Linked DNA regions of Homo sapiens: region 2 is linked to region 1. Evidence: promoter capture Hi-C in 16 types of primary human blood cells and fetal thymus (Javierre and others, 2016). All regions are on one chromosome and are shown on one strand. Each heading gives the region's core, a stretch centred on a gene start or on the middle of the fragment in contact. The rest is flanking DNA. Distances are from core to core; before and after follow the strand shown. Region 1 holds the start of CNTNAP4 (contactin associated protein family member 4). Region 2 has its middle 17 kb from the start of LINC02125.

Evidence for each region. Contacts are between HindIII fragments. The CHiCAGO score rates a contact against its expected background, and 5 or more counts as called.
Region 2: a fragment that was not itself captured here is called in contact with the fragment with the promoter of CNTNAP4 in region 1 in 1 of 17 cell types (megakaryocytes); the score reaches 5.0 in megakaryocytes.

What each region holds. Positions count from the first base shown.
Region 1 is chr16:76,275,171-76,282,368 of GRCh38, forward strand. CNTNAP4 (contactin associated protein family member 4) reads left to right here and starts at 2,231. Exons shown (of 24, transcript NM_033401.5): 1 at 2,231-2,577. The coding sequence starts at 2,493. The HindIII fragment of the contact is 3,956 bases long and covers 1-3,464 here.
Region 2 is chr16:76,614,449-76,621,055 of GRCh38, forward strand. No RefSeq gene overlaps it. Among named protein-coding and RNA genes, the nearest start is that of LINC02125, 17 kb to the right of the region's middle. The HindIII fragment of the contact is 177 bases long and covers 3,028-3,204 here.

The DNA of each region.
Region 1 (7,198 bases), core at 981-3,480:
ATTACTGTAGCCCATTGATATGGAAAAATCCGCCAGTATTGGTCACTATAATAATTTATACATTGTCCCAAAGAAGTTATTATTGTTATAAAATGTTTATTTTTCATTTTTGCTATGTGTACTTATCCATTTAAGATGCATTCTCTAATTTGTTTTAAGAGAACAATTAAATACAATATTGTAACAACGAGACAACTTTTTTCTTCTGGAGAGCCCACAACCGTCCCACAGACATGATATTTTCTTCAAAGGACTGATATAATTATTCAATTAGATAACAAATGGCATATAGTATGTGTTCAGTAAAATTTAATCTCCTTCAATAATTAGTTAACATAAACTGTTAATTTATATCTGCTTTTACTTAGCATATGATTGAAAAAATAAAATCAGGAATGCAAGTCTAGGAACACAGAATAAACACTCAACCCATGACCTTTCTTTATTTTATTGTATTTATCCTTTTTTTTTTTTTTTTTTTTTTTGAGACAGAGTCTCGCTCTATTGGCCAGGCTGGAGTGCAGTGGTGTAATCTTGGTTCACTGCAACCTCTGCCTCCCGGGTTCAAGCGAATTCCTGCCTCAGCCTCCCAAGTAGTTGGGATTACAGTTGCCTGCGACCACACCCTGCTATTTTTTTTATTTTTAGTAGAGATGGGATCTCACCATGTTGGCCAGGCTGGTCTCGAACTCCTGACCTCAAGTGATTTGCCCACCTTGGCCTCCCAAAGTGTTTGCTGTGTTTTCCTAGGGCCTAAGGTTTTTGCTGCCACTGACAAGGGTCAGGAAGGAGGTATACTCTGATTTAGGGGCAATAAGTCCTAGGGTGAGAGCAGTAAAACTGGAGTCAGAAAAGCCAAATCCAGTCCTCAGCATTTATTACTAACTCTATGACCTCTTCGAATCATTTAAATTCTCTGTTCTTGTTTTCTCTTGTAAAACAGGAAAAGAAAAAAGATGCATTCTGCTTTGTTTGCAGGCATGAGCTAAACAAGCATGTTTAGTTCTTACGGGTATTTCTGTCATTTTCTCACTCTTTGACAAACCTATCTGATCTTTGACAAACCCACTCTCATTATTCCATAAGAAAGTGGTGTTAAAGGCTTATGTTTCTTCCAATTTGTGATTACCAAGAGGCACTTAAGAACTCCAGGATTTCCATTTGTATAAAATCTAGCACATTATCAGTAAAACATCTTGACATTTATTTTAAATAGATTATTTATCTGCTATGAACCATGTGACATGCTTCTTGTTATGTGATAGTAACTCCATTATTTAGACATTTTAAAATTCCATTCAAGAAACAGTTGTATCCATGGACCAGCCATTCAAAGAGTAATTTTTCTTTAATCATTGATCTTCCAAATTCAACTTTACTCCTCTCTCCTTTAAGTCACCTGAATTACATCGTCACATTGTTCAGTGTTTGTGTGAATGTGTATGCATGTGTGTATGTGGTGGTGGTGGAGGTCCCTTTCTTCAGTATTCCCTCATTTCCTACTTTGGGCCTTTTTGGAAATGTTATTAAAAATTTTGATTATAGAATGGTACTTCATATTCACAGCATGATGCATTCATCAACATAAATCTAGCCAAAGCATTTCATTTGTGGATTTATACACCTGAAGCATTAAAATAAGAAATGTTAATTTCTTGCAGACTACTACCAGATGATTTTAAATATCTGCTAAGCAGGAATGTCTGTTCCCATGTGGGGAATTTCCATAATAAAATCCTGGCACCCTCGCTGAAGAGTACAGTTTTATAGAAACAGAGAAAAACAACAGCAAGTATTTTCCCTGAGGACGGTTTTAGCTACAATTTCCCAATGCTGCTTAGTTATTTCTGTCTTATTTTATGCTTTTGTTTTGAAACATAATGCAATTTTACCTGGATGCACTCCCGGATAATCAGGAATGGCTCAGTGTGTTTTCTGGCTCTTGCAAATGCAAGACCTCCAGAAAATCAGAAGGCTCCACCGCCTTGTCCCTTCCCCCACTCACACCTCCAGCTGGGAGAAAAGGGTTAAGGATTATTGGAAAATAGAAGAGAAGGGAGGGAGCCCCAAGGAGGCCCACGAACGGGAGGCCGCGCCTCTGGGTGCAGCGGAGCTCGAGCGCTGTTGTGTGTTTGGAAGGAAGGATGCTGCTGCCAATTTGTGGGACCGCTGCTGCGAGGAGTGGGCGTGGCCTCGGCGGTGTGGATGCTTGTTAGGAAAGATGCTGAGTGCTTTTCAGTGAGGAGTCAGGGAGGTGTGTGTGAGAGAGAGAGAGAAAAGAGAGAGACAGAGACGGGGAGAGAGAGAGGGAGAGAGAAGAGAGGGAGGAGGGAAGAAGAAAAGACGGAGGGAGGTGAGGAGGAAGGGAGGGGGAGAGACAGAGACCTAGAGGGGCTGAAGACCCAGACAGAGCTGGCAGAGCTACTGAGAAGAGGACTGGAGCGCTCTGAGAGCCTCTCAAGATCTTTTGGGGGAGCCCAATAAATGTGAACATGGGATCTGTCACGGGAGCTGTCCTCAAGACGCTACTTCTGTTATCTACTCAAAATTGGAACAGAGTCGAAGCTGGGAATTCCTGTAAGTATACAGCAAATGATTTAAAACTTGCTGGGGGGCTCTCTGCAAAACTTTGATTCTGTTGGTTTGATGATGATTATTTGCAGCTGGGATTGCTGCAAAGCGTATTGCTGTAAACCAAGCATCACTTAAAAATCTTGCCAATGTGACCGGTTAACACTTGTCTCTCCTCTTGGTCTGGTCAAAATAGGCAAAGTGTCATTTCTCTTTTTGTCTACTCGCAGAATCTTACCCTCTGGTCTTTGAGTATTCATTGAGAATGCCCAAGTTCTAGTAAAACATGAAATTAGCATCTTATCGGGGGAATAGCCTGTGAATATCTTCATTTCTTCTTTTTTAAAGAACTACTGAATTTTATTGGAATTATGTCTAAGAGGAAAACAACTGGCAGACTTTACATTATGCTGCATTGGCTTAGATTTCTGAAGTTTGCAATTGGGCAGACCAGTAGCTGCCTGCATCTTTAAAATAATGCAGGCTAATAACTGAAATGTACTGCAGGCTTCAGGAGCACCAGCACTGGCTGAGGCGAGTCTCAGTATTAAGAGCTGTGCCCTCGCTGCTAAGAGAATGAGACTTAGCGCTCTCCGGAAAGAGGAGCCTCTTCCTACATTTCGCTTAAAGGAAAACCAGTCAGGTGGTCTTTCAAAAGTAGGATTCCTTTGTGGTTGAATGCTTAACTGCATAAATTTGTAATTGAATGTTCTGATGAAATAGAACCTATTTAGGGAAGATTGAAATCTTATTTATAATTTAGATATCATCCATAATAATTTGGCAGACTCCCTTCATCCACTCTTTATTAGAGATAGAAAAAGTTTTAAAAGTTATCTTTGGCTTAAATTCTCTAAATGGGAGAATTTTCCCCTCCTGATTAATGACAAACAAGCTTGGCAAATACAACTTTTTATTTTTTCTTGGATTTTAAAGGAAAAGCTCATTTGCTTTCCAAGAACTGGCTATGAGGCCTGTCCAGGAATTTATGTTGCTGCTGTATCATCAGGCTTAGATTTGGGGAACAGAGGCAGTAATCAGACATTTGCTATGGCATATCACTTGACTATGTTAAGAGTTCTGATATGTGAAAAACATGACAAACTCATGGGCACAAGTCAAATGTCCCCTCACAGTACCTGGCTCCCGTGATTTCGTGTTTCAGTTCAGAATGGGCTCATTTAATGTCACAGGGTATCCATCACTCTGAAAGAAGGAACCTCACTTCAGGTGCTGCACATCAGATTCAACTTTAGTTTGAGTGTTGTGATAATCTCATAAGTCAATAAAATGTATAATTTCACCTAGTCAAAACCTTGGAATCTTATAATGGTAGCATTAGAAAAACATTGCATCATACAAGCAAACAATAACAACAACACCCACACACAAATGGAAGTTCTGTAGAAAAGGCATAAGTAATTCATCTTCCAACCACTAAAGTTCAACCAAAAAGAAAAGCACTAGAGGTCACTCTTACAATGTAAAGCACATCACCCCAAGCATCCTTCCCTCAAGAAAAGCAGAGCTTAAATCTGGCCTGTACTCCATTCAGTCTTTCCACTAGACTGCCTGTAGTTGGGTTTAAAATACATTAATCTAATTATTTGGGCTGCTAGTTGTTTATGTTTGCTTGTTTTCTTGAAGCTCAATAAAAAGTGTAGGGTGTACATCAACATTAAATAGCTTTCTTTTGCCATATATCTTCTTAGAAAAGAAAAGGTGCTGAAAGAGATCTGAGGAGAGTGTAATATTTATGTCTGCTTGGCTCTGGTTGGATCCCTCACTGACACTTAAAATTTCAGTGCTGGTTCTATATTCTTTCAGCCTTGGTTTGTTAAGGAAGTAGTCTAATGCTCTTTTAAACATCTGATGAACTTGCAAAACCTATACGATTTTTCATTATAAAAAACATTTAAAGTTGGAGTTCTTGCTTACCATGCATGTGGAGTTGACTGTTCTTCAAGTGTCAAAAATAAAATGAAATGACCTTATATAATTAAAGTTGCACTCAGTAATTTATTGTGAATATTTTGACAATATGATTTGCAGCAGTATGTGTAAAAGAAAATATTTCATTTCTCAATTTCTATTTCATTTTTCAATATTTAAGAAGTATTTTCTTTTTGGAAGAAGTAAGGTCTACTTGTACCAAGCCATGGTGGAAAGTACTTCATATGTTTCATCCTTTTTGGAAGGACAAGTGTATATATATTTCCCAGCAAGACTGGAATTTAGTGTAAGGACAAGCAACTATCAACCAGCATATGCATTTCTAAAGTATTATAATGACTCCAATAATTCTTCTGGACAAGACTTTATATTAAGAAAAAGTGAGTCAGTCTTGACTACCAATAGTAATATTGGAAATAACTGAATATAAATAAATAAAATTAAAGGACTAGAAAGACTTTTCCCCTTTATTTACAGCTGATGAGCCAGGAGCAAATCTGTCATCTACAGAGTCAGCCCAAGGTTGCCAGTTTGAAAGCTTTCATGGGACAGAACTCTGCAAAACCAGTACAGCTCAGGGATTAGGTGCACTTTAATTTGAATGTTAATTGATCCAATTAAACAGCAGGGAAACTTTACATTAGAAGGATTCTGTTCAAAGACAAACATATATGTTCACATATATGTATATGTGCTCATTTGTATATAGGTATATGTGTATGTAGATATCTAAACTACTAGACTCGTGCTCATTTGTATATACGTATATGTGTATGTAGATATCTGTAAACTACTAGACTCATGTGCTTGCATATTTTTGGTGGCCCTGTTAAGTACTTATCTGTCTAAAGATGAAATATGTTGAATGAACCACGCTCCCTGCCTACTAGTATCCTGTCTGACATTTCAAAAGCAGTGGACTAGCCATAATTTTTTTCTCTTTGTTCTCATCAAGATGAGCTTTTACAATTATATTGAAGTGTCCCTTCCATCAAAGTTTAGAGACGGATCCTTGCAGATGGGTGTGCTCTTTGAGAAGCTGCACTGGCTGTTCTTGGTTTCTTTGCTTGCTACTAAGAGACATGCATTAAGAACAGAGACATTTCTCTATTTTTTAATAGCTCTTATAAATCCAGTTTTTGAACATTAAGACATGGTTGAAGATGGGGTCAACTTACCCCAAAAGAAGGAATGGGTACAGTAGTAAGGCTGATAAGAGTTTGCTTTTATTTTAACTCTTGCAGATTATGTGAGGGAGGCTCTCTAGTTACTGGTATACTGAGCCGTACTCTTGAGAATAATTAATGCTCCCCAATGACTTAATTAGAAGTTAACATCTCACTGTGTTCTTTCTTTTCTCTGATGGAAATAAAGGCCGTATCTGATACCTACCCTAAAAGAAGCACTGAAGGATAGATGAAGGCAAATTGCCTAAGTAGATGATCACTCTTGTGGGTCCTGGGAGACAGCTGGACAGATTCTCACATTGTTAAAACTCAACCTTGTAATTCTTTCTAGAAGCTACTTTCTTTTCCTCCCCCCACCATATTTACTCCTATAGCAGAAAATAACTAGAATGCAATAGTAAAGTACTGATAAAATATAATTCTATGAGGCAATGCATAAATGGCTAGCCCCTATAAAGATCAGCACGTACTTTGACTCACTTTTCTAATAGCAATGGTGATTTATTTTCATCTATTCAGTCCATTTTCTCCACTTCTTATTACATGCATCTCAATAATCTCTGATAAAGGCAGCCTCTAGCTCTGGAGATAACGTGACTCATGGGCCAACATGGGGATCAAACATAACTTTCACATAATACCTGGTGCTTACTCTAGGAAATAAAGATTATTGTCTTGTAAAATTAATTTTGGAATTTATATCATATGTAAGCAATTTCTGTATTGGAGCTAATGAGTATATCAAGATTAAATTGACTTTTGTTAAAGAAAATAGATTAATAGAATTATATAACATCTATCATAAGATAATAAAATATTTAACTCAGGTTGGTAAACTGTGGCCCATGGGCTGAATCTGACCTGCTAGTAGTGACTGTTTTTGTATGACCCATGGGCTAAGAATAGTTCTTCCATTTTTAGCTGAAAAAAATTAAAAGAAGAATTCTTCATGGTAAAAAATAATTATATGAAATTCAAATTTTATTCTTCCACTTATTAGTAAACCTGCATGACAAAAATTTCTACTCAAATATTAGTATTATATTTTGAATTTTATCAATTAAATTTTATTAAGATTGTTTACCCTCTTACTATGTAACTACTTACATAAGATTCTTTACTCTCTGGCACTTTATATAAAAAGTTAATTGACCCCTATTTAAATAATATACAATAAAATGATAAGACATGAAAAGTGTATAAATTATACTTCTATGATAAAATTTAGTCTTAATTATTTAGCACACAAATATATACTTGCAGAGTTGTGGTACTGAACGCAATGCTATTATTGCCAGGAACTGTAACAGAGGATATCTTCAAGTTAATGTTTCCTTGTATGTTTTTTCTTAAAGACTTTATTGTTCAAAAATCTTGATATTTCAGTGGGTATAAATTATTTGTAAAATTCCCACAGTTTTAATCTCAAGTGGTCTTGTTAGGATAAGATATTTGATGAAATATATAAGTAATATAAGTTCAATGAA
Region 2 (6,607 bases), core at 1,866-4,365, 340 kb after region 1:
TCAGCCCAAAGTGCCAGCTGGCAAACAAATCAAGACCATTTTTGTTTCCTTTCTTGGCATGTTGCCTATATGTTAAATGCAGAAGAGATGCTTTCTAAATTATAGTACTAAATAGAGTCTTGGGTCCTGGCCTAGAAATGTATTAATGATTATGGAGATTTCAGATCACAGTATAGTGTGTGATTAAAGTTCCAACTTATAGGTATCTAATTTCTGTTTATTGCAATGCTGATCATTGTTTAAGAACCTGTCTATAGGTTATGTCAGGCAAAAAGAGATCTGAAGGTCTTTGTGTAATCTCATGACTATATTATATTCATCTGAGCAATAAATATCAGAGTAGAAACTTAAAGTATTTTAATATTTCAGGAAAGTGGAAATTGTAAGAATGAGGTTAATTTTGGAAAATGGATTACTGAGGCAAACACACTTGCAGTCCTTGAATTAGAGCTTTTTGTGTGGCTTAAATTGAAATTACTTTTCCATTTACATCTTAGTGACGTAGATAAGAGCTATACCAGTTACTTTCAGTATACGTTGGGCAGGCCATTTCACCCCTCTAAGGATTTATGTCCTTATCTGTAACCATGATGTCAGTCATACCAACTTTACATGATAAATGTGATCCTATGCCAAAAAAAGAAAAAAAAAAAGCAATTGGCCTATTTCCTGGCAAATGATATGGGTTATTGTACTTGCTCGCATGCATGGGAAATTTTTTTGAAACTTGGAAAATAAGCATCTTAACTGCCATGCATCAGGCATGATAAATGGTAAACATTTATAAACATTAACTTATCTAGTCCACAGTCCAGCCCCGTATATATTAAAAGCAACAACAAACACTGAGTCTCTGAAATTTTAAATACCATGTCCAAGGTCATACAGCTACAGAGGTGTTAGGTGGCAGATCTGGCATTCAAATGTTTCTGCTTTCCAAACTCTGTGCTCTCATATAACAGGTTATTTTAGCTAATTGTTGTAAATATAATTTATAGGGAGATCTATATATAAATATGCATTAATCATACATAAAAGAAATATAAAGCAATTGAAAATGTATGTAAATTGATTTATTTCCTTTTATAATTTTTATGAAGTATATGTAGATGTAAATATAAATATGCTATATAAATATATAACACATAAGTTGCATAGATATGTGTCTGTGTGTGTGAGTGTGTATGTGTGTGTACGTAAATTGCTTTATCTTCTCTTGATCATTTCTATAGCAAAGTTTCTCATTACTCACAATGTTTCCCAGGCTTTACTGCACACTTTCTTGGAGACCACACTGGTGTATCTGAAAGGTCACTGGGCTGGGAGGAAGAGAGACAGGTCCTGTTTCAGATTGTAACTTTACTTTCCTCATTTATGAAATGAAGGTGTTATCTAAGGATCATTCAGGTTCTAAGAAGGCCTTGTCCTAGGAAGGTGCTAACGATTTTCTAGTACTGTGCTGTGTTGAGAGAAGGAAGATGAGCATCAGTAGACATTTCAGAAACATACCATCTGCCATGACTTTTACAACAATTCAAAAAGAATGATAACAACCGAAAAATTTCTGATCAAAGCCGTGGCTGAATTTATGAATTTGATTTTCATGCAAATTCAGCTCTGAACATGAAGTGAGTCGTGAAATGGAATTTGAAGGGGTCGTGCTCCATGCTCATGACTGACTGAAACATCCATCTGCCCAGCTCTCTACCCAAGCCCCCATGCTCACAAAGAAGATCTCATTCAGGCTGATGTTTATCAGCTGCTGCAAAATGGACTTAATCGTTTGAAAATAGGAAAATGAAGTTGTCTTTAGACTGGTAATGAAACTCCTATTTGTTTTGGAGACTTTTCCCCCATTGGAAACATTAAAACATTACAAAATCTTACCTACTAAAAATTGTATGCAAATATATCTTAGGAATATGCTTGATTGCCTAAGTCTGTAGAGAATCAGTAAAAATTCTGATTTGCTGCTAAAGTTGTCATAAAAGTTTATGAAAAATAACAGAAGAGAAACAAGAGGAAAGCCACATTAGTGTATAACTTTAACATCTTTCATTCAAATAATAAGGATGATAAAACAGAAAATATATATTTTCTGTTACCTCAGGGAAGAGTCCAGTCATCCATCATAAACCAGATAATACATGTATTTGTAATTTTAACTTTAATGTATAGAACTTTTAATGATTTAGTAAAGCTGAGTTTTCAAGCGTAGTGAATAATTTATGTTTTAATTGAACTGCTTAATCATATTAATAGTTTTCACATCGTACTTCCAAATGATAGTCTTTAGTGTTTCAGTTCAGATTAGTCTTCATTCTTCAGTCCAGATAAACATAACTCTCAAACCGAAGAAAAATAATTGATGCTATAATTTACATCACGTTTGAATGGTTATTTCTATTTTATATTTCACCTCATATTGTATGATTGATTGAGAAGTTTCAAGGGATAGAATTTGTTCTGAAAGTCAATACAATAATATTGTCTTGCAAATTCAAAACCAATTTATTATTGTTTGTTTTTACAAACAGAATATGTCTTGTTTACTGGCTTTGATAATTTTGACCCACAAATGCATATTATTGTATGTCTCAAAAATGACCATGAAATTAAAAAATAAGAAATTTGTATACAAGTAACTCCAATGTCCTAAAACTGAATTCAGTGTCACAGTTCTTTTATATCTAGATATGTAAAATAAAAATTTCAACCTTAAGTGATTACTAAGAAACCTCACAGTTCCAAGAACAGCTTTCATATTGTAAATTTGATTTGTAAAACATAGATTCTCAGAGCTCCTCTGTGTTGCTTTTCCCATTGAAACAGAATAGTATTATTGTTCCTATCAATGTAATAACCAGAATGGCACTTTTAATATTGTATTTCTAGACTTTGTTTATGTTTTTAATTTATTTTCTTTACCATAGTTGTATTAACATTATTTAATCATAGGCCTGGCTATTTACTTTTCTGACAACAGGATATTATTTATTCGGAACACATAGTTTTCATATTAGCCAAAGCTTTCGAAATCATTCTTGTGTGTTAGTTGAATATATAATTAGGCATTTTTCTAAATACACAATAATTACCCAGCAGAAAATGCTACCATTTCTATTTCTTAGTTTTAATGTACACAGAGCGGTTAGTAACAATAACAGAAGTGAAAGACCCAAACACTCTTTGAGTTTTAAAGTAAGCTTCCTATTGAGGCATAACCTGTATAAAGGAAAAGGCACAAACCTTAACTATACAGTTCAATGAATTTTCACAAAGTGAAGATATCCAGGGAGCTGCTGCAGAACATTACCAGTTCAATTCTTTGTAGTTATTATGTATCCATTTGTAACTCCAATGCTAACTTCTTTTTTTTTTCTTTTTTTCTTTTTTTTTGCAATGGAGTCTTGCTCTGTGGCCCAGGCTGGAGTGCAGTGGCACAATCTCGGCTCACTGCAAGCTGCGCCTCTCGGGTTCACGCCATTCTCCTGCCTCAGCCTCCCAAGTAGCTGGGACTACAGGTGCCCACCACCATATCCGGCTAATTTTTTGTATTTTTTAGTAGGGACGGGGTTTCACCATGTTATCCAGGATGGTCTTGATCTCCTGACCTTGTGATACGCCCACCTCGGCCTCCCAAAGTGCTGGGATTACAGGCGTGAGCCGTCGCACCCGGCCTCCAATGCTAACTTCTACCAGCATTGATCATTTTGACTTCTTTTATTAGCATTATATGAATAAAATTATAAGGTAAGAGCTGTTTTATGTTTGGCTTGTTTCACTCAACATTACATTTCTGAGATATACCCATGTTGTTGCACCTGATGTTAATTGATCACCCTTCATTCCTCTGTAGTACTGCTTTGTGTGAATATACAGGAAAGATATAGCCCTTGATGGATGAGGATGTTCATAATGGGGCTGAAGTAACTAAATGATACACCTGGTTCACATATTAAATTTTGACCTGTGTGATGTGTGGAAAAGGGACTGCAATGAGTCACAGCATAGCTGTCAAGAACAGGTGTAAGAGGCTGGGACAGCTTGGAAGGTGGCCTTCGGGCAGAGGTAACTGAGAGATTAGAAAATATTTTTATGTAAACTACAAGGTTTTTCTAATTACTAGAGTGTGGGAGGTGAGAGTGGGAAAACTGTACAGACGGACATTTCTTTATCAACTGGGTGGGTGGAAGTTATTTTTATTAAGATTACTATCAGAATATCAATAATATCAATGTTCCCCTCCTGAGCATGTGAAGTCTGAGCTATCCTGAAATCTTCGTATCTGTTAACTGGGCATTTGACTAAATGGACCTGAAGCTCATTAGTACTGGAAATGTAAGGTTTGACGCTATTGATATAAGGGTAGTATTTAAAGCCACGAGAATGAATGCTATCACCTAGGAGGAAAATAGAGCGTTAAAAGAGGAGATCCTAGACTGAGCCTTACAAACATTCAATATTTTAGGGACCATATGAAAAGAGAACCTTGAAAGAGAGACAGACTCAGAAGAATTTCAGTTTTAGGAGCAGCAGTGGTTAGGGTGGTGATGTAAAAGTCAGAAGAGTATGAGGAGGAAGGGGGTAACAACTGAATCAAATGCTGTTGGCTATGGTAAGATAAGGACTGAAAAATGCCTATTGGATGCTACAAAATGGGTATCTGAGTTTGGCAGCCAGATTGGAGTGAGACATGAATGACGAAGAACTGAAGATACCATGTGTAGACTACTCCTTTAAAAAGTTACCAACAGAGGGCCGGGCGCGGTGGCTCACGCCTGTAACCCCAGCACTTTGGGAGGCCGAGGTGGGCGGATCACGAGGTCAGGAGATCCAGACCATCCTGGCTAACACGGTGAAACCCCGTCTCTACTAAAAACACACAAAAAATTAGCCGGGTGTGGTGGCGGGCGCCTGTAGTCCCAGCTACTCGGGACGCTGAGGCAGGAGAATGGCCTGAACCCGGGAGGCGGAGCTTGCAGTGAGTGGAGATCGCGTCACTGCACTCCAGCCTGGGCGGCAGAGCGAGACTTCGTCTCAAAAAAAAAAAAAAAAAAGTTACCAACAGAGGGAAGTGGAGTATACAGTGGTACCTGGAGGGGTGTGGATTGGTTTTCAAGTTAGAAATGATAAAGTGCATTGGAATGCTGATAAGAATGACTTAATTGAAAGAGATACGAGATACTGAACAGATAGACAAATAACCCAAGCCAGAGTGAACTCTCTCTCCAGTAGTCATCATTCGAAGTTCCAGAACCAACTTCCTAGCTGCCAGATTCAGCTAAGAGGTTGAACTTTCCCAAGGAGTGGCTTAAAGGCTTCCCAAGTAACTTCTTAATCACCCAGACCCCCTCAGGTCACCTGAGATATAGCACATGGCACAGAGACCACTCAACCAACAAGCAAAGCATTTGCAATCACAGTGCTAGGACAGCAATAAACGCCCTGCCCTGTGCTTTGCATCACCCGTTACCTCAGGGAAGGGTCCAGTCATCCATCATAAACCAGAGCACCAATGAACTTTGTTTCATGGCTCATCCTTCAGGTCTCAGATGAAAGACAATTCATGGTGGCAACTTCTCTGTGGACTGCAAAAGCCTAGACATGAAGTTCTGTTTTGTTCTCCCACTTACCTAATGTTGATTCAATAAATATTTATTAAACACATAATTAAGTTCCTAGGGCACTTTGTAATGCCTAACCCACAATAGATGCTACAAGAAAATTTGTAAAATAAATAAAGAAATTAAAAAATGAATAAAATCTAATAGAAGGAGTAATCAGGGTTGTTTTTTGTGGTAATTATCTCTCTGGAGCACATTTAAAAATTCTCTTGAACGTTGATATTTAATGTACTGAGAACAATATTTTGTAATATGTTTACTTACTTTTCAAAAAATTACACCCTTTATAAAACATTGACTCCATTGTGGAATGGTATGAATATTTAAAACACCATCTTTATTTATTAAGAAATCCTTCAAACAATTTAAATACATTATTTTATGCAACAAACTAATTTTTCCCTAAGCTCACGTGACATACCAACATAAGCAGCATATAAAAATAAGTCTATGAAATTCTAAATTGTGTAGTATCCACTCAAAAAGAAAATACAGTGATCAACTAGGGCTTCAGTCAAACATATGCTAGAAGGAAGAAACCCTGTCTTATTGCCTTAACTAAAGATCTCACTAGAATTGTTCAAAAAGCTATTTATAGTTGAATATATAGACATTATTCAATATGGCTAGAAAATAATCAAATTAAGCACCTAGAAAGTATATTTTCTATTTTCTGACATTAGGGTGGTGACATTTTGTGACAAATAAATCCAAAAGTAGATATCTGGAGTCTTGCATTTCCTTCTTAACATATGTAAATATATTGAAGCTATGCTTTATTTACCATTAGCTTGTTTCTTTCTTAACTAAAACTACAACACAATCCTCTCTCCCCATTGTAAAGGCTGAGAGTCCAGTGGATGTCAGTGTTAACTTATACTATGAAACATTTTTTTCTGAACTTTGCTTCCAGTTGTATGTGGTTTGAAAGCAGAAACCATGCTCAATTTGTGTTTTCTACCCAGATTTTAGAATAGCAT